Regions from separate parts of the Homo sapiens genome. Here all the other regions are linked to region 4. Evidence: promoter capture Hi-C in human tissues and cell types (Jung and others, 2019). All regions are on one chromosome and are shown on one strand. The core of a region is centred on a gene start or on the middle of the fragment in contact, and the rest is flanking DNA. Distances in the headings are between cores, read along the strand shown.

The links. Contacts are between HindIII fragments. The study calls those that stand out against the background at their distance.
Region 1: a fragment that was not itself captured here is called in contact with the fragment with the promoter of RBFA in region 4 in 3 of the 25 tissues and cell types used here (IMR-90 fibroblasts, lymphoblastoid cells and mesenchymal stem cells).
Region 2: a contact is called between a fragment that was not itself captured here and the fragment with the promoter of RBFA in region 4, in 2 of the 25 tissues and cell types used here (lymphoblastoid cells and spleen).
Region 3: a contact is called between a fragment that was not itself captured here and the fragment with the promoter of RBFA in region 4, in 1 of the 25 tissues and cell types used here (lymphoblastoid cells).

Annotation. Positions count from the first base shown.
Region 1 is chr18:79,758,054-79,760,881 of GRCh38, reverse strand. No RefSeq gene overlaps it. Among named protein-coding and RNA genes, the nearest start is that of KCNG2, 38 kb to the left of the region's middle. The HindIII fragment of the contact is 3,286 bases long and covers 1-2,828 here.
Region 2 is chr18:79,649,823-79,652,598 of GRCh38, reverse strand. The region is part of intron 2 of CTDP1-DT (CTDP1 divergent transcript); the gene reads left to right. Among named protein-coding and RNA genes, the nearest start is that of CTDP1-DT, 29 kb to the left of the region's middle. The HindIII fragment of the contact is 4,983 bases long and covers 1-2,776 here.
Region 3 is chr18:79,698,470-79,701,169 of GRCh38, reverse strand. The region is part of intron 4 of CTDP1 (CTD phosphatase subunit 1); the gene reads right to left. Among named protein-coding and RNA genes, the nearest start is that of CTDP1, 20 kb to the right of the region's middle. RefSeq lists an enhancer at 2,366-2,700. The HindIII fragment of the contact is 9,627 bases long and covers 1-2,700 here.
Region 4 is chr18:80,033,046-80,035,814 of GRCh38, reverse strand. RBFA (ribosome binding factor A) reads right to left here and starts at 1,381. Exons shown (of 7, transcript NM_024805.3): 1 at 1,162-1,381. The coding sequence starts at 1,319. It also overlaps a transcript of TXNL4A not described here. RefSeq lists silencers at 1,186-1,335, 1,446-1,525, 1,536-1,855, 1,738-1,894, 1,926-2,095. The HindIII fragment of the contact is 12,317 bases long and covers 1-2,769 here.

The sequences.
Region 1 (2,828 bases), core at 169-2,668, 270 kb after region 4:
TACTGGGAATTGAGAACCTGCATTTATTCATTCAACAAACTTTTGTTGAACAGATATTATGAGCCAGTTCTGTGTTGAGAGTAGAAGCTACATCAACCAACCAGACTGCATTCCTGCTGTCATGGTGCAGTCAGCCAAAAAAACAAAACAAAAAGGCAAAAATCAAAACAACCCCAAATTCAGCAAGGGCTATAAGGAGGGGAGGAGACAGGGTGGTCAGTAGGTATAAAATCAGTAAGCATATGGTCAAACTCAACACTACCATCAATCAACTGGATATCATTAACATCTACAGACAATGTTATCCACCAGCAGCACAGTAACGTTCTTCTCAGGCTCACAGGAACATTCATGCAGACAGGCCATCAATCACACCTCAGCAAACTTAAAAGAGGAGAAATCATGCAGTGTCTGCTCTCAGATCACAGTGAAATTACAGCAAAAATCAGTAATAGAAAGATAACTGAAAAATCACAAAAACATGCAGCAATTAAACAACACATTTCTAAATAACATACAGGACAAAGAAGTAATACCAAGAGAAATTTAAAAATATTTTGAAGTAAATGAAAATGAAAACACAAGTTACCAAAATTTGTGGGATGCAGCAAAAGCAGTACTGCAGAGAAATTCAGAGTACTGAATGCATATATTAGAAAAGATCTAAAATCAATAACTGAAGCTTCCACCTGAATAAGACAAGAATAACAAATTAAATTCAAAGTAGAAGTAATAGGCTGGGTGCGGTGGCTCACGCCTGTAATCCCCAGCACTTTAGGAGGCCAAGGCAGGCAGATCACCTGAAGTCAGGAGTTTGAGACCAGACTGGCCAATGTGGTGAAACCCCGTCTCTACTAAAAATACAAAAATTAGCTGGGCGTGGTGGTGCATGCCTGTAGTCCCAGCTACTCAGGAGGCTGAGGCAGGAGAATCACTTGAACCCAGAAGGTGGAGGGTGCAGTGAGCCAAGATTGCACCACTGCACTCTAGCCTGGGTGACAGAGTGAGATTCCATCTCAAAAAACAACAATCACTAAGTAGAAGTGATAAAAAAAATTAGAGATGAAAACAATGAAATTGAAAATAGGAAATCAATACAGAAAAGTAAGGAAGCCAGAAGCTAGTTCTTTGAAAAGAAAGAAAATTGATATCTCTTTAGCCAGGGTAAGAAAAAAAAAAAAAGGACACAAACTGCTAATATCAAAAAATGAGAGGGGACATCACTACAGATCCCATAGACATTAAAAGGATAATAAGGGAATACTATGAACAACTCTATGCCCACAAATGTGATAACCCAGATGAAATGGACCAATTCCTTCAAAGACACAATCTGCTGAAACTCATATAAGAACCAGTTTGTCTAAATAGGCCAATATCTATTGAAGAAATTGAATCAATAATAAACAACTTTCCAAAGCAGAAAGCATCAAGCCCAGATGAGTTTACTGGTGAATTTTGCCAAATATTTAAGGAAGAAATTATATGAAATTTCTATCATCTCCTTCAGAAGACAGAAGCAGAGGGAATACTTCCAAGCTCATTCTATGAGACCAGCATCACTCTATTACACAAACCAGATGAAAATAAGAAAACTATAGACCAATATCTCTCATGAACACAGATGCAAAATCGTCAACCAAATCTTATCCAACTGAAAGCTACAATGCATAAAAAGAATTCTACAGCAAGACTATTGGGATTTACCCCAGACTACTGGGATTTGAAAATCAATGTAACCCATCACAGCAACAACAAAAAAATTACGTGAGCGTATCAACAGATGCAGAAAAAGCATCTGACAAAAATTCAATACTTATTCATGATAAAACTCAGCAAACTAGGAATAAAGGGGAACTTCAACTTGACACAGAAAATCTATAATAATGGTGAGAAATGCAAAGCTTTCCCATTAAGATCAGGAACAAGGCAAGGACATCCTCTCACCACTCCTTTTCAACATCATACTGGAAGTCTCAACTAATGCAGTAAGAAAAGGAAATAAAAAGTATACTGATTGGGAGCGAAGAAATAAAACTCTTTGCAGATGACATAATTGTCTGTGTAGAAAATCCAAAAGAATTGGACTGCCCCGACCAAGTGCCTCCTGGAACTACAGCAAGTTTTCAGCATGCAAGGTTAATACACAAAGTCAACTGCTTTCCTATATACCAGCAATGAACAAGTGGAATTTGGAATTAAAAACATAGTATCACTTACATTACCTGTGCCAAATAAAATACTTTTGTATAAATCTAACTATATATAGATAAGATCTCTATCAGGAAAACTACAAAATTCTGATCAACAAAGTCAAGGAAGAATGAAACAGAGAGATATTCTATGTACATGGATAGGAAGAATCAAGTCTTTCAAGGTGTCAGTTCTTCCCAATTTGATCTACACATTCAATGCAATCCTAATCAAAATCCTAGCAAGTTATCTTGTGGATACTGACAAACTGACTTTAAAGTTTATATGGAGAGGCAATGACCCCGAATACCCAACAAAATACTGAAGGAGAAGAAAGAAGCTGGAGGATGGACAGTACCCGACCTCAAGACTTAACTAAAGCGACAGTAATTAAGACACTGAGGTACTGGTGAAAGAAAGACAAATGGATTGATGAAACAGACCCACAAAGATACAGTCGGCTGATCTTTCACAAGTGAGCAAAGGGAATACAGTGGAGAAAAGAGTCTTTTTAACAAATGGTTCTGGAACAACTGGATGTCCATAAGCAAAGAAATGAATGTTGACACACACATTACACCTTTCACAAAAATTGGCTGAAAATAGATCAGAGACCTAACTATAAAATGCAAAAC
Region 2 (2,776 bases), core at 57-2,556, 380 kb after region 4:
TGCCCTTATGGGATTAGTTTCCACCTGCTTAGAGAACATTCTTTAGAACTCCTTTAGGAAAGTTTTATTGGAGTTTAACTCTCAGTTTCTGTTTCTTTGAGAATGTTTTATTTGCTCTCATTGTGGAAAGACGGTTTGGGTAGACAGCAGTAGAATGACAATTTGTTTTTAGAAGACATGATTCCACTGGATTCCAGTTTCTATTTTTGCTGTCGAAAATCTGGGCATGGCACAGTGGCTCACGCCTGTAATCCCAACATTTTGGGAGGCCGAGGAGGGTGGATCACCTGAGGTCAGGAGTTCAAGACCAGCCTGGCCGACATGGTGAAATCCTGTCTCTACCGAAAATACAAAAATTAGCCAGGCATAATGGCACACTCCTGTAATCCTAGCTACTCGGGAGGCCAAGGCATGAGAATGGCTTGAACCTGTGAGGTGGAGGTTGCAGTGAGCCAAGACTGTGCCACTGGACTCCAACCTGGGTGACAGAGCAAGACTCTGTCTTGAATAAAACCAAAACAAAAAAAAAAAAGAAGAAAATAAAATCTGTTAGTCTTATTGTTGGCTTTATAGGTGATCTGTCTTCTGTTTGTCTTCGGTGCCCTGAATTTTTTTTTTTTCTTTTTTGAGACGGAGTTTTCGCTCTTGTCGCCCAGACTGGAGTGCAATGGAGCGATCTTGGCTCACTGCAACCTTAGCCTCCTGCCTCAGCCTCCCAGGTAGCTGGGATTACAGGTGCCCGCGACCATGCCCAGCTAATTTTTGTATTTTTAGCACAGACAAGGTTTCACCATGGTGGCCAGGCTGGTCTCAAACCCTTGACCTCAGGTGATCCACCCGCCTTAGCCTCCCGAAATGCTGGGAGTACAGGCGTGAGCCACCGTGCCTGGCCTCAGTGTTCTGACATTTTCTTGCATGTCAATGGAAGTGTCTATGGGTGGATTTCTTGCATGTGTCTATGGGTGGATTTCTTTTTATTTACTCTGTTTGGAATTTATTGTGTATTCACGACTCTCATCAATTCTTGCAGGTTTTCAAGCATCATCTCTTTAATTAATCATTTTTCCCTCTTCCTTTTTGGTCTCACTTCCTAGAACTATGAATAGATATTCGTTAGACCTTATTCTATAATCTCTTCCTCTTAATCTTTCAAATATTTTTTGCCTCCCTGTTTTTCTGTTATGCATTCTGCACAATTTCTCCAGCTCTAACCTCTAATTTTGGTGCCTCTGCGGGTCTGAGTCTGTTTTGTGTTCGGGTCGTGCGTGCTGACTTTTGCTCACGGACGCGTTCCTCTGCGTGTGTTTGCTGCTCTTTGGCCGTGAGCTCAGGTTTGCCTGATGTCACTCTGTGAGAACCCGGTGGTGTTTACTACTGGCTCAAGCTGGGGACCCCAGTGGGGAGCACATTTGCCTCCTCTGCTGGGCCTGGAGCCCCAGCTCACCTCCTGGCCCAGACAACCTTTAGGTGGCTCTGATGTGGCAAGTCCTCCCAGGGCAACCTCACCTTTTCCATTTCATTATGGGATTTCCCTCCTCTGAATTCAGGTCACGAAGGGAGCCTTGAAGAAGTCCCTTATTTCATTCAAGCCCAATACTGGCAGGAAAACCAAGTCTCAGGCAGGATCGGATGGTTTTGTTGGTGAGGACCCTTCCAAGTGTCTGGCCTGCCTTACTGCCATAAGTAGACATCCCCTCCGATTTTTCTTCGGTGTGTTTTTAACTGCATAAAATAGGCCAACAGGGAAAACCAGTTTCTTCCTCCCCCTCCTCCTCCTCTTCCTCCTCTTCTTCCTTTTGGGCTGGGTTTTGAGACAGAGCACGCATTCCAGAAGAGGCATGTGTTTGCGGTTGCTTTTATTTCGATACATGAGGCAGAGAAAAAGAGCAAAATGTGGAAAGTCCCCGTGAGTGGAGGGGCCCTGCTGATGTGACGCGGAGAAAGCGATGCCTCCACTGTCAGAATCTTGTCATTGTGGGGAGAGAGCTCCGTAAGACAAGGTGTCTATAAGCAAAAAGTACATCTGCATGGAAGATGCTATTCCATGATGGATTACCGTCAGAACAGTTTGCACCGTGCATCCTAACACACAGGCCAGTTGAATCTGCTCTATAAGGTGCGTGAGCATGGGGGCCGTTCCAGCTCAATCGACTATTCCCTGACTCTTTTTACCGCTCCCATGGGCTTGTCTGGATGGCACATTACTCTCAGTAAAACGGAGGAATAATGAAAACAAATGCGCTGCACTGTGGCTAAAGGGAACTGCTACCTTTTTCGTCGTTTTGCTTTTCTGTTTTTATGTTTTAAAGGAGGTGGTAGCGCACATGTGGACTTTGGAATGAAAAAGACAACCGGGAAAACGTAGATGGCTCGTGTGCTGTCTAGGAGAAGGCCGCTCCCGAGAGGTGAGGACCGCATCTGTGATTCTGTGGCCCGTGAGAGCAGCTGGTGCGCCCTGCAGGGCTGACAGGGCCGAGGATAGAACGTGCCGCTTTCTAATCACCGGTCAGAAGCGTGGGCCGGAACAGAGGGTCACGAGCCCTGAGCCCACGCGCACACACCGCCAAAAGCTTCTAGGGTGCATTTGATTGTGGTGGTAACTCTAGCGACTCTGAGTTAGAAGGATCCCGTTTTGTCTTAGAATTTTCACCAGGTGTGTTTTTAATTATAGCAGGGAGAGATGGCATTGAATGTTTTGCTGTTTGAGCCTTCCCATACAGCTCAGGTTTAATTTATGAAATTGTTATGAGAAGTCTGGCATTAAGAGAAGAAAACA
Region 3 (2,700 bases), core at 85-2,584, 330 kb after region 4:
GCTGCAGGGTGGATGTGGTGTCAGCAGCATGAAAACAACATTCCTCTCCTGTACGTCTCCATCAGAGCTCTTGGGTGACCAGGTGCATGGTCAATGAGCAGGAATATTTCTTAGAAGAATCTCTCTTTCTGAGTAACAGGTCTCAAGAGCGGGCTTAGAATGGTCAGTAAACCATGCTGTGAACAGAGGTGCTGTCATCCAGCCTTTGTTGTTCCATGGATGGAGCACAGGCAGAGGAGATTTAGCATCATTCTTAAGGGCCCTGGGATTTTCAGAATGGCAAATGAGCACTGGCTTCAACTTAAAGTCACCAGCTGCATTAGTTAGTCTCCAACGAGAGAGTCAGCCTGTCCTTTGAAGCCAGACACTGACTTCTCCTCTCCAGCTATGAAAGTCCTAGACGGCATCTTCTTCCAACAGAAGGCTGTTTTGTCTGCACTGAAAATCTGTTGTTTAGCGTGTTTAGTTTCATCAGTGATCTCAGCCTATCTCCAGGGGAACTTGCCGCAGTTTCTCCAACAGCACCTGCTGCTTCACCTTCACTTTTGTGTTACGGAGACGGCTTCTTCCTTCACCCTCATGAACCAACCTGTGCTGGTTTCCAGCTTTTCTTCTGCAGCTTCCTCACCCCTCTCAACCTTCACAGAATTGAAGACAGTTGGGGCCTTGCTCTGGATTAGGCTTTGGCTTAAGGGAATGTTGTGACTGGTTTGATCTTCTACTCAGACCACTAAAACTTTCTCTTTCTCAGCAATAAGGCTGTTTCACTGTCTCATCATCTGTGTGTTCACTGAAGTAGTATTTTTAGTTTGCTTCAAGAACTTTTCCTTTGCATTCACACCTTGGCTGTTTAGTGCAAGAGGACCAGCTTGCAGCCTTTCCTGGCTTCTGGCGTGCATTCCTCACTAAGCATAATCACGTCTACCTTTTGATTTAAAGTGAGAGACTGGTGAGCCTTCCTCCCACTTGAACACTCAGAGGTCACTGTAGGGTTACTACGCTGGCCTAATTTCAATACTGTTATGTCTCAGGGAATAGGGAGGCCTGAGCACCGGGACAGAGACAGGGAATGGCCAGTTGGTGGAGCAGTCAGGACACACACATCTACCCATTACGTTTGCCGTCTTATGTGGGTGTGGTTCGTGGCACCCCAAAACAATGACAACAGTGACCTCAAAGATCACTGACCACAAATCCCTATAGCTGACAGAACACTGATGAAGCAACTATGACAACAGTGACCTCAAAGATCACTGACTACAGCTCCCTGTAACAGCAGAGCACTAACGAGGAGGCTGAAGTACACGGGAAATTTCCAGAGCGTGGCACAACACCTGGGGGCACATGCTGCTGGAAAATGGCACCTGCAGACGTGCTCGCCAGGTTGCTCCGAGCCTCCTCCCTGTGAACACAGTATCAGTGAAGCACCATAAAATGAGGTGTGCCTGTAAAACTCACTCAATGCCCAACTTCAAAGGCACAATAAAAGCAGGAAACAGCCACAGCAACTCATGAAGGTATATGTGTGCAGAATGTATTTTCATAAAGTCCTTACATCCTTCAAAATACCTAGTTTGTCAGAAAATAGGCATTAAAAAAAAAACCTTGGGCGGGCGCGGTGGCTCATGCCTGTAATCCCAGCACTTTGGGAGGCCGAGGCAGGCGGATCACAAAGTCAGGAGATTGAGACCATCCTGGCTAACACGGTGAAACCCCGTCTCTACTAAAAAAAATACAAAAAATTAGCCAGGTGTGGTGGCGGGCACCTGTAGTCCCAGCTACTTGGGAGTCTGAGGGAGGAGAATGGCGTGAACTCGGGAGGTAGAGCTTGCAGTGAGCCAAGATCCTGCCACTGCACTCCAGCCTGGGTGACAGAGTGAGGCTCTGTCTCAAAAACAAACAAACAAAAAACCTTAGTGAGTAGAGTAGCGGGTATGAACGAAGCAATCTGAAAATATCTAGTCACAGTTTATACTGCACAGAAGAATAGACTGCTGTGTAAGATGCCACGAGACACACAAATGACTAACACAGCCAGAAATAGAAGCTGTTTTGTGGGTTAGACCTGAATTCCGGCCCTAAACAAACTCCTGTGCAGCACGGCAGTTACTCGATTCTCTCCATTCTGCAAACAGCATAAAACGCGAGAGTTTGTGCCACCTGGGGGGTCTGTGCAGCTCACCCTGACCACCTGACTGACTTACAAGGCCAAACTTAACCAAACTTCTTCCAGATGAAGCTTGTCACAAATTTGACTTATGTGTAACTGTCATCAATCTGTCCCAGCTGTTGGTACCACGCCCCGGCATTCAGCAGCGGAGGATGCCCGGCTCCGTGGTGCATCCTCCAGCCTGCTGGGTGTCTGCTATTGGGACCTGCAGGATCCCCAGGAACCTTTAGAACTGGTAAGGTCAGAACTGATGGGCCTCTGAAATCCCAAATCTAACGCCAGAGTCCACATACTGTTCAATAGCAAACACTTAAAAAACAACTCAGTGTTGGTGAGGGCCTCCCTGATGGCCACCGTCTAGGCCGACACAAGCCTCTGCGCAAGCCTCTGGGCACAGACATTCAAAGCCTTCGGTCTAGAAATTCAGCTTCTCTGGTTCCATCCTGAGGACACAGCTGAGGCACAGGAAGGGTTTCGTGTGCATTAAACAGGGTTCTGCCCTCACCCTGCATTTCCCCGTGTTTCCCCTG
Region 4 (2,769 bases), core at 132-2,631:
AGTAACACGGGATTATAACCCATGAGTTCTTGGTGATATGAATGAATTAATACATGGGGTGAAGAGACATATCCCTTGTGCAGAATGCAAACCACTTATGAGCAAAATTCCCCACTCATTAGGCATGGGCTGCACACAGCGACTTTCTCCCAGAGTACAGTAAGGAAAGGGGGCAAAAAGAGTAACTTTACGGTAGAGAAACCTGGCAAGCACCTCATGCAGGGGATCACGGCCAGCGTGGACCCTGGATACGGTGCGATGAGAATGGCCTTTACCTCTGTAGTCTTCCTCCCCAAAAGCCATAATCCACGTCTAAGCATTAAAAAAACAGGCACATTCCAACAGAGAGGCATCCTGCAAAGCACCTGACCAGTACCCCTCAAAACTGGCACAGCCATCAAAACCAGGGACAGTCTGGGACACTACCCCAGCCTAAGGAAACAAGACAATTCAATGTAACGTGGACCTTGGGTGGGCACCTGGGACAGGAAGGGACAGCAGGCAGAACCAAGGAAAAGTGAATAAAGTATGAGCTTCAGTTAGCAACACTCTTATCAATATCGGCTCATTAACTGGAACACGTTGGAAGCTAAAGTCCGACGCTAACACAGGGGGAGCTGGGTGCCAGGACACAGGAACGCGGTACTATTTTTGCAATTTTTCTGCAGGGTCTAAAACTGTCTTTAAAAGTAGTGTATTAAAGTAGAAAACATACAACCACCTACCATACTTAGAAGAACTAAAAGCAGTGTGAAAAGTCAATGTATTTTATTGTACTTATCTTTCATAATTTAAAAACACTAATTATCATGACAAGCTTTAGTCTTCAAATTCACACAGAAAGTCAACATTAGCAAGGAAATTCTTATATTTTTTCATTTTTCCTCATTTTCTGAAACTAATCTTCTGAAAAATACGTCTGGTGACAAGAATCAAAATAAACACACATTGTCACTTTGTTTTCTTAACCCGACACACGTCCACGAACACAAAAGCTGCAAATGCTGACAGTGAGAGCTAGAACTGCTGCAGACCCCAGGAGGCAGGAACTGGCGAGCTAGGCCGCATGGGCGCAAGAACGCGGATGAGCGGACACCGCAACCCGGGGACACCGCCCCCTAGGGAATACCGCGCCCAGGGACACCGCCCCCGCCGCATTACTTGGTTTTCGAGGCAAATTTCTTGAGCCAGTTCTTGCAGGAGACAGCAGAGCAGTGAAGTCCCCGCTCGCAGCCTGGAAATAGCGCAGCATCGCGGCTACGGAACAGGGCCCGGAGACCCGCGCGGGAGCGCCACAGCCCGCCCGCCGCAGCCCACATGGCGCGGCGCCGGGACCCGGAGCGAGCAGGGAGACAACGGGCGCAGGCGCGGAGCGACAACTGACGCGAGGGTGGCGGCGTGTGGGCGGGGCGACGGCGCAGAGCGGGAGGAAGACTCACGCCTGGCAGGCGGCGTGTGGGCGGGGCGATGATGCAGGGCGGGGCGATGATGCAGGGCGGGGCGAGGACAGACGCGAAGCTGACGGCGTGTGGGCGGGGCCACGGCGCGGGGCGGGACGAAGACGGGGTGCAAGGCGGGCGGGGCAACGACGGCGGAGGGGCGAAGGCCCGAGGGGGGCGGTAGGTGGGCGGGGCGAGGACAGACGCGAAGCTGACGGCGTGTGGACGGGGCGACGGCGAGGGACGGGGCAAAGACTGGACGCAAGAAGGGGCGGGGCGACAACGGCGGAGGGGCGAAGGCGCGAGGCGAACGGCGAGTGGGCGGGGTGAAGACCGACGCGAAGCGGGCGGTGGTTGGGCGGGGCGAAGACTGACGCGAGGCGGGCGGTGAATGGGCGGGGCGAAGACTGGCGCGAGGTGGGCGGTGGGTGGGCAGGGCGAAGACTGAAGCGAGAAGGGCAGCGCGAGGTGGGCGACTACCAGAGCGAAGCGAGCGGCGTGTAAGCGGGGTGAAGACAACGCCAGGTGGGCAGTGTGCGGGCGGGGGGGGCGGCAACGGGGGCGGGGCGAAGGACGACGCGAGGCGGGGCCGGCGGGAGCTGGGCGTGGGGAGGCCGCGTGGGCTGCGCGGAGGGTGTGCCACTCGGGGAAGCGTGGGAACCGCCTGGTTGCCTGGCGCTGCGTAGCTAGGAACACGTTTTGTTTAAATACTGGGAACTGACGTAGGCGGGTGCGCCGCACAAAGCAACGAAGGCATCGAAGCCTGGAGACCTGGGCAGGGCCGCTGTCGGCGGGAGGCTGCGAGGGGTCCGTCTGTTTCCGCCACTGGGCCCTCCAGGGCTTTGCTGCTGCGCCGCCTTCTCCCCGGGCACCTAGAGAAAGTCCCCAGATTGGGCGTCCTCCCCAGAAGTGGTCTCGCCCCGCCCGCCTCCCCAGAGTCAGCGTGGCCCAGCGGGGAAGCTGCTCCCCCCGGGCGTGGAAAGAGAAGTGAGCGCGACCGCAGTGTTGGGGATGCGTGGGCTGTGACTCCCCCGAGGCGGCTGCTGTGGTGTGAGACACGTCTGTGTGTGTGTGTGTGTGTGGGCGCGTGTGGATGTGTACATGTGTATGTGTGCATATGTACGTGTGTGTGCATGTGTGTGGACATGTATATGTGTGCATGTGCGTGCGCGTATATATGTGTGTGTGTATGCGTATGTATGTGTGTATATATTGTCAATCGAAGAAAACGACGAGACAAGTCTCTAATCATTTTAGGAGATTTATTTGCCAAAGTTAAGGACGCACCCAGGAGACAGGTCTACGCCTTTCTCCAAAAATGATTTTGAGG